Regions from separate parts of the Homo sapiens genome. Here region 2 is linked to region 1. Evidence: promoter capture Hi-C in 16 types of primary human blood cells and fetal thymus (Javierre and others, 2016). All regions are on one chromosome and are shown on one strand. Each heading gives the region's core, a stretch centred on a gene start or on the middle of the fragment in contact. The rest is flanking DNA. Distances are from core to core; before and after follow the strand shown. Region 1 holds the start of FOSB (FosB proto-oncogene, AP-1 transcription factor subunit). Region 2 holds the start of CLPTM1 (CLPTM1 regulator of GABA type A receptor forward trafficking).

Evidence for each region. The method cuts DNA at HindIII sites, captures the fragments that hold promoters and counts their contacts. A CHiCAGO score of 5 or more calls a contact.
Region 2: the fragment with the promoter of CLPTM1 here is called in contact with the fragment with the promoter of FOSB in region 1 in 2 of 17 cell types (naive CD4 T cells and activated CD4 T cells); the score reaches 5.3 in naive CD4 T cells.

What each region holds. Positions count from the first base shown.
Region 1 is chr19:45,466,631-45,469,334 of GRCh38, reverse strand. FOSB (FosB proto-oncogene, AP-1 transcription factor subunit) reads right to left here and starts at 1,339. Exons shown (of 4, transcript NM_006732.3): 1 at 623-1,339. The coding sequence starts at 748. RefSeq lists an enhancer at 337-1,238 and a silencer at 1,423-1,702. The HindIII fragment of the contact is 2,687 bases long and covers 246-2,704 here.
Region 2 is chr19:44,954,089-44,956,788 of GRCh38, reverse strand. It overlaps CLPTM1 (CLPTM1 regulator of GABA type A receptor forward trafficking), which reads right to left and starts at 1,409. Exons shown (of 14, transcript NM_001294.4): 1 at 1,322-1,409. The coding sequence starts at 1,393. RefSeq lists a silencer at 1,157-1,486. The HindIII fragment of the contact is 4,299 bases long and covers 1-2,700 here.

The sequences.
Region 1 (2,704 bases), core at 90-2,589:
ACGCTCCCGGGACGTCAGGGGCGGGGCGGACGAAGGGGGCGCCGCGCGCCGTGCGTGCCCCGCGTCAGACGGAGGATTCCAGCGCGTCAGCCGTTACGCACGGGTCCCCCGTTACGTCTCCGCGCAGGAGGCGGAGGCAGCGCGGCTGAGGGTTCGAGGCCCCTCTTCCCGATGGGTGGAGGGCGACCCGGCACCGAAGTGGGCGCTCCGAAGGAGGAGGAAAGGAAAAGAGACTGCTGGAAGCTTCCCCGGGATTTCCCCCACCTGCCTAACTGCGCTAGCTTCAGGTCTGGGACCCGAGCAGGGGGCAGTCCCGGGGCCGGCTCAAAGTTCTCAGCCCCGCTACCGCATACACGTTGCATTGAGCAGCGCATTACCCACCCCACCCCCACCTCGCCCCAAAGCCTACCCTCCCTGCCGCGTTCCCTCCTTGCGCTCCACGCACGCAACCAATTGCAAACATCTCCCGACTCTTTGCAGTTTGCAAAGTGCGCTGTGAGCCTTTTCCATCTCAGATCTAGGGTTCTGATGCGCCTTTTTGTGGGGGTTGGGGTTTATTCTTTTCACCCTTGACTTAAAAAATAAAACCTACAAAGCAGCACCCCTACTATCAAAAACTTACCTGGGAGGCGGCGGCGGTGGGTGGACTGCCGAAGGAGTCCACCGAAGACAGATATTGAGACTCGGCAGAGGGTGAGGAGCTGCACCGGGAGCCGGAGTCGTAGTCTCCGGGGAAAGCCTGAAACATTTCCCTGGGCACAGGGGGGCCCCTGTGACCACGCTGAGGTCGCCGGGAAGCCAAGGCTATGGCCGGGTTGGGGAAGTAAGGTGCAAGTCCGGGGTGAGCCGTGGGAGTCCCCGGTGAGCTGAGCGAGTCCTCAAAGTACGCTGTCCGGGGAAGCTCGGGGAAGGAGCAACGTCCCGTTCCAACAATGGCAAAGTTTCTGTGCAGTCTTCCTGCGGTGCCCAGGCCCCCACAGGATGCCGCTGTACCTCTTGAAAGTGCAGGCTCCGTAGGACCCAGGGGCGAGGGAGGGGTTGCTCCCCCAGGGGCAGAAAGCGCTGTCCCGCTGTACAGAATCAGCTTCAGCTACGGTCTCCTCCACGCGTCCGGCGGGTCCCACGGGGGGAGGGGAGTAATAAAGAAGACCAAAAAAAGTAAGTCGGTCCTCCAAAAGAAAATGAAGAAATATCTGGAAGAATCTTTCCAAAAACTTTCTCCCCGGAAAAAAAAAGATTAATGAAATTTCATAACCCCCAAGAAGAACCACAACAATCAAGTTTCCAAGTCTTGGTTCCGCGTGTCCCTGCCGTGGCCGTAGCTCTGAGTCTTATGAATGAAGCACAGACCCGCCAGCCTGTATTTATATGCCCGGGACCCGCCCCCCTGCTTACGTCACCCGCCCCTTGCTGGACAAACTTCCCCAAATCTCCGGCCCCGCCAAATCGAGTCCCGCACTGTCCAGCAAGAGGTCTGTTCTAGACTCGATCTGGTCACTTGCATGACCCTCGGGGCCCTGGGGGTCTCGGGGGTTGCGTTCCGGGCCACTCGGCGGGAGGGGATCCCGGCCCCGCCTTCCCGGAGTTCCTGTGACGCAATTAGCCATATAAGGAGCTCGGCCGGCGCGGCGGAGTGTTTGTTTGGTATCCTAGCAATGACGTCAGAGGGAATCCCTCGCTCGCTCGCGCGCGCGCCCGCGCCCCGCCCGCGCCTGCGCAGTGCAACGCCGCCCCGGGGGCTGGTAATAATAGGCGCTTAGACTAGCCCCGCAGGGACCCCGCTGACCCGGGCGGGGAAGACCCCAGCCTGCAGGTCCCCTTCACCTCTGGCGCCCCCACCTACCCTGTTCTACCGATGGTGCAGCGCCCCCATTCGAGAAGAAGAGCAGATCTCCAAAAGGAGACCCTGATTAGTGTGGTGTGGTCACGTAGGTGGGGAAACTGAGTCCCGAGCGGGCTGTGATGCTCAGGTGAAAGTGGAGGTAATGGAGGGATTCCGAGGCTCGTCCTGGTTTCTGTCCTGATTCGCTGTGCGAGCTTAGGAAATGTTTTCCCTCTCTGAGCTTTAGCTTTAATCTTCCCCGCTGGGCAAAGGATGTGTGTCTTGGACCCTGCTGGCCTTACAGGTCCGGCGTTTGGGAGGGATGCGGATTTGGAGGAGATGGGAAATGAAACTTAGAGAGAAGCCTCTCTTCTGATGGTGTTGGTAGCCTCTCCTTCCACCTTTTAATCCACCCGGAGACAAAGAATGTGTAAGAGGGAGGGGATATTATTATTAATTCTAATAATAATAATTAATGCCTTGTATTTGGCACTTGCCAAGCACAGCTCCTGTGCTACGCCTTTCAGTAGAAGATTTGTAATCCTTAAAACAGCTCTGGAAGGTTAAGAGAGAAAAATCTTCATTTTATAAAAGAAAAAAATGATACTCAGGGAGGTTAAATGACTTGCCCAAGATCCCATCACAAGAAATTCAAACTCAGAATTGTCAAACTCCAGATTTCCTACCCTTTCCATTTCTTTTCTGATTTCTGAGACCTGCCTGGTTGGATGAAACTCCCTGAAAAACCTGTGTCTGGGGTTTTTTTAAATGATAATGGCAATATTAGTAGCTTTCACTTGTCAGGTCTTTTTTTTTTTTTTTTTTTTTTTTTTTTTGAGACGGAGTCTTGCTCTGCCGCCAGGCTGGAGTGCAGTGGCGATC
Region 2 (2,700 bases), core at 160-2,659, 510 kb after region 1:
ACAAGAGAAGATCAGAGTGCCATCTGGAAGCTCAGGGCAATGAGAACAACCTGGGCCCTGGTCTCTCAAGCCACCATCAACCCAATAATCAACAGAAACCCAGAGGGGAAACGACCTCCTTTCAGCAAGACTGGGAAACCCTTGAAGACAGGAACTGAGCCTTCATTCCAGCACTAACTCAACAAACATTTCCTAAGCTGTCCCTGAAGCCAGGCCCTGGCTGAGAATGCTGAAAAGATTCAGAGCAGATACAGTGGGCTCTATCACACAAATTTCATCCATGTGTCCTACCCAAGTGATACCACTTGCTCTTTCTCTGGGCTCCCCCAGTCCCTGACACAGACTTTTGTCACCAACCTAATCATTCAGGATTACAACTGTTTACATGTCAGTCTCCTCTCTTCGTCCCCTGACAGCAGGGATATGGCTGGCCCTCCTGTCCAACCTCTGCATTTAACACGGGAGAGATAAAGGCCTAAAGAGGGAAAGGAACTTGCCCAAGGTCACACAGAGAGTCAGCTTCATTCTCCCCTCTCAACCCGCACTCCTTTCCCCTGAGCTGCCTCCCACATGTCAGTGACATCCCAGTGGGTGGGTCGACAGCACCTTCATGTCTCTCCATCTATTCCCCAAATGCCTGAACGGTAGCTGCCTGAAATGGTATGCTCTGCAGTGTGTTAAGACAGCAGTGGGGCAGAAGTCATCCGCACCAGGACTAATTAACCCATAGAACTATTTTACATTAAAACCACAACCATACCAGTCCCTGTGTCAGCAGTGTCTTGTAACTTCTACATAAAGTTACAAACCTAACCAGGATGACCTTCTAGAAGCGCCTTAGTCTCACTGTTCCTTGAATTCCCGTCTGTAAAATGGGTCTGTCGGCCGTGCCCTGCTAATACTGACTTCCCCACAGCTAGAAAACTCCCAATTAATCACTGCGCACACCTCAAACACTACAACGAGACCTGAACGCCAGACCACTCTAGGAACGGCCTCAGAGCATGGAATCGCGGAGTTGAGAACCCAGCGCGCCAAGGTACAAGCCTGCGCCCCTCCGAGCCACTGTCTCCCCGGATCGAGCAATGAGCCTGGTGGCCGCCCGGCTCGAGCGTGCAGGGGAACCGACCCGCAACAGGGCCCTGTTCCCGGCACCGTCCGGCCTCCCGGGCGGTCCGGCCCTGCCTGGGCCGGGTATTCAAGGTCCCTCTGGCCAAGGAGCCCCCAGTGCACGGGATTCCGTGACAAGAGGTAGGACACGCCCCGTGGGAGGCCCCCCGGCTGGGGAAGAACCCCCTCAGTCCCCTCTCGGCCTCCGTACCTGACCGGAGCTGCCTCCCCCGGCCGCCACCACGGCGCTGCGGGCCCCGTCCGCCTCCTGCGCCGCCGCCATCTTCCCGCTCCGGGTCCCCGCCCCCGCCGCCAGCCCCGCCCCGTCCCCGACTTCGCAGCGCAATCGCGCGAGATTTCACGCTTTCCTAGCCCCGCCGGGCCACCCTATCCGGCAAGAGTGCCGCAGCCACGCCTCTCAGGAAGGCCACTTCCGGCTATGGAAGGACCAACCTGGCCACCGTACTCGTCTTTCTCCCAGCCCGTTTGTTTCCACCTAATAAAAACACTGTATGCTCCGAACTCCAGGACTTTCTCGGCCAGCATGTGCCTCCCGCAAGTTCTGTCCCTTCCGTCCCTTCACATTAACCCGCCTTTTCGGTTATATGAGCCTTTCGGGACATCCTGTCCGCTTCTCCCTGCCGATTCTTCGCGTCCTTTTCGTTCCATGTTTCTTGAGCTTTACCGGCCACTGTACGGCTTCGAACCACGCCCCTCTTTCGTCAGAGGAACCTTTCTGGCCACCGTATTCTGATTCGAAGAACTAGCCTTTTGCCCAGCACCCTTGTCTTCTGACCCCTCTTCCTAAGACAACTCTTTCGTTCAAGTCTCCTGAGCTCATATCCTTTCTGTGTTTTTAGAGTTCCAATTCCAGGGGTCTTACGGCCAACAAACCTCCGATGAGACCCTATGATACACCCCCAAGCCTTCGGACTGCCCTGCCTAGCACGCATGCGCGTTCCCTCAGTGGTCCAAACCTCGCATCCGTGGGCTAGGCTTCACGGGCTCTGAGAATTCCACAATTTTTCATTAGCTGTGTGTCTTCGTACAGCTCTAAACCCGGCCATCTGCTGAGAGACCCTTAGTTTGGAGAGGGTGTTACGGAGGCCCAGAGAGGACAAGACTCTCAGAGGCTGTTAACTGTTCACCCGTGAAATTGGGTGGATGTCTGGCCAGGGTTCTAACCCTTGTGGTGCTACTGACTGGATAAGATATCCTGGACAAGTGACGTCTCTCTCTCTCTTTTTTTTTCTTTTTTAGACGGAGCCTCACTCTCCCCCAGGCTGGAGTGCAATGGCGCGATCTCGGCTCACTGCAACCTCGGCTCACTGCATCCTCGGCCTCCCGAGTAGCTGGGATTACAGGAGCACGCCACCACTCCTGGCTAATTTTTTTTTTTTTTTTGAGACGGAGTCTCGCTCTGTCACCCAGGCTGGAGTGCAGTGGCGCGATCTCGGCTCACTGCAACCTCTGCCTCCCGGATTCAAGCAATTCTCCTGCGTCAGCCTCCCATTTTTTTTTTTTTTTTGTAAGTAGAGACGGAGTTTCACCGTGTTGGCCAGGCTGGTGACAAGTGACATCTATGTTTGA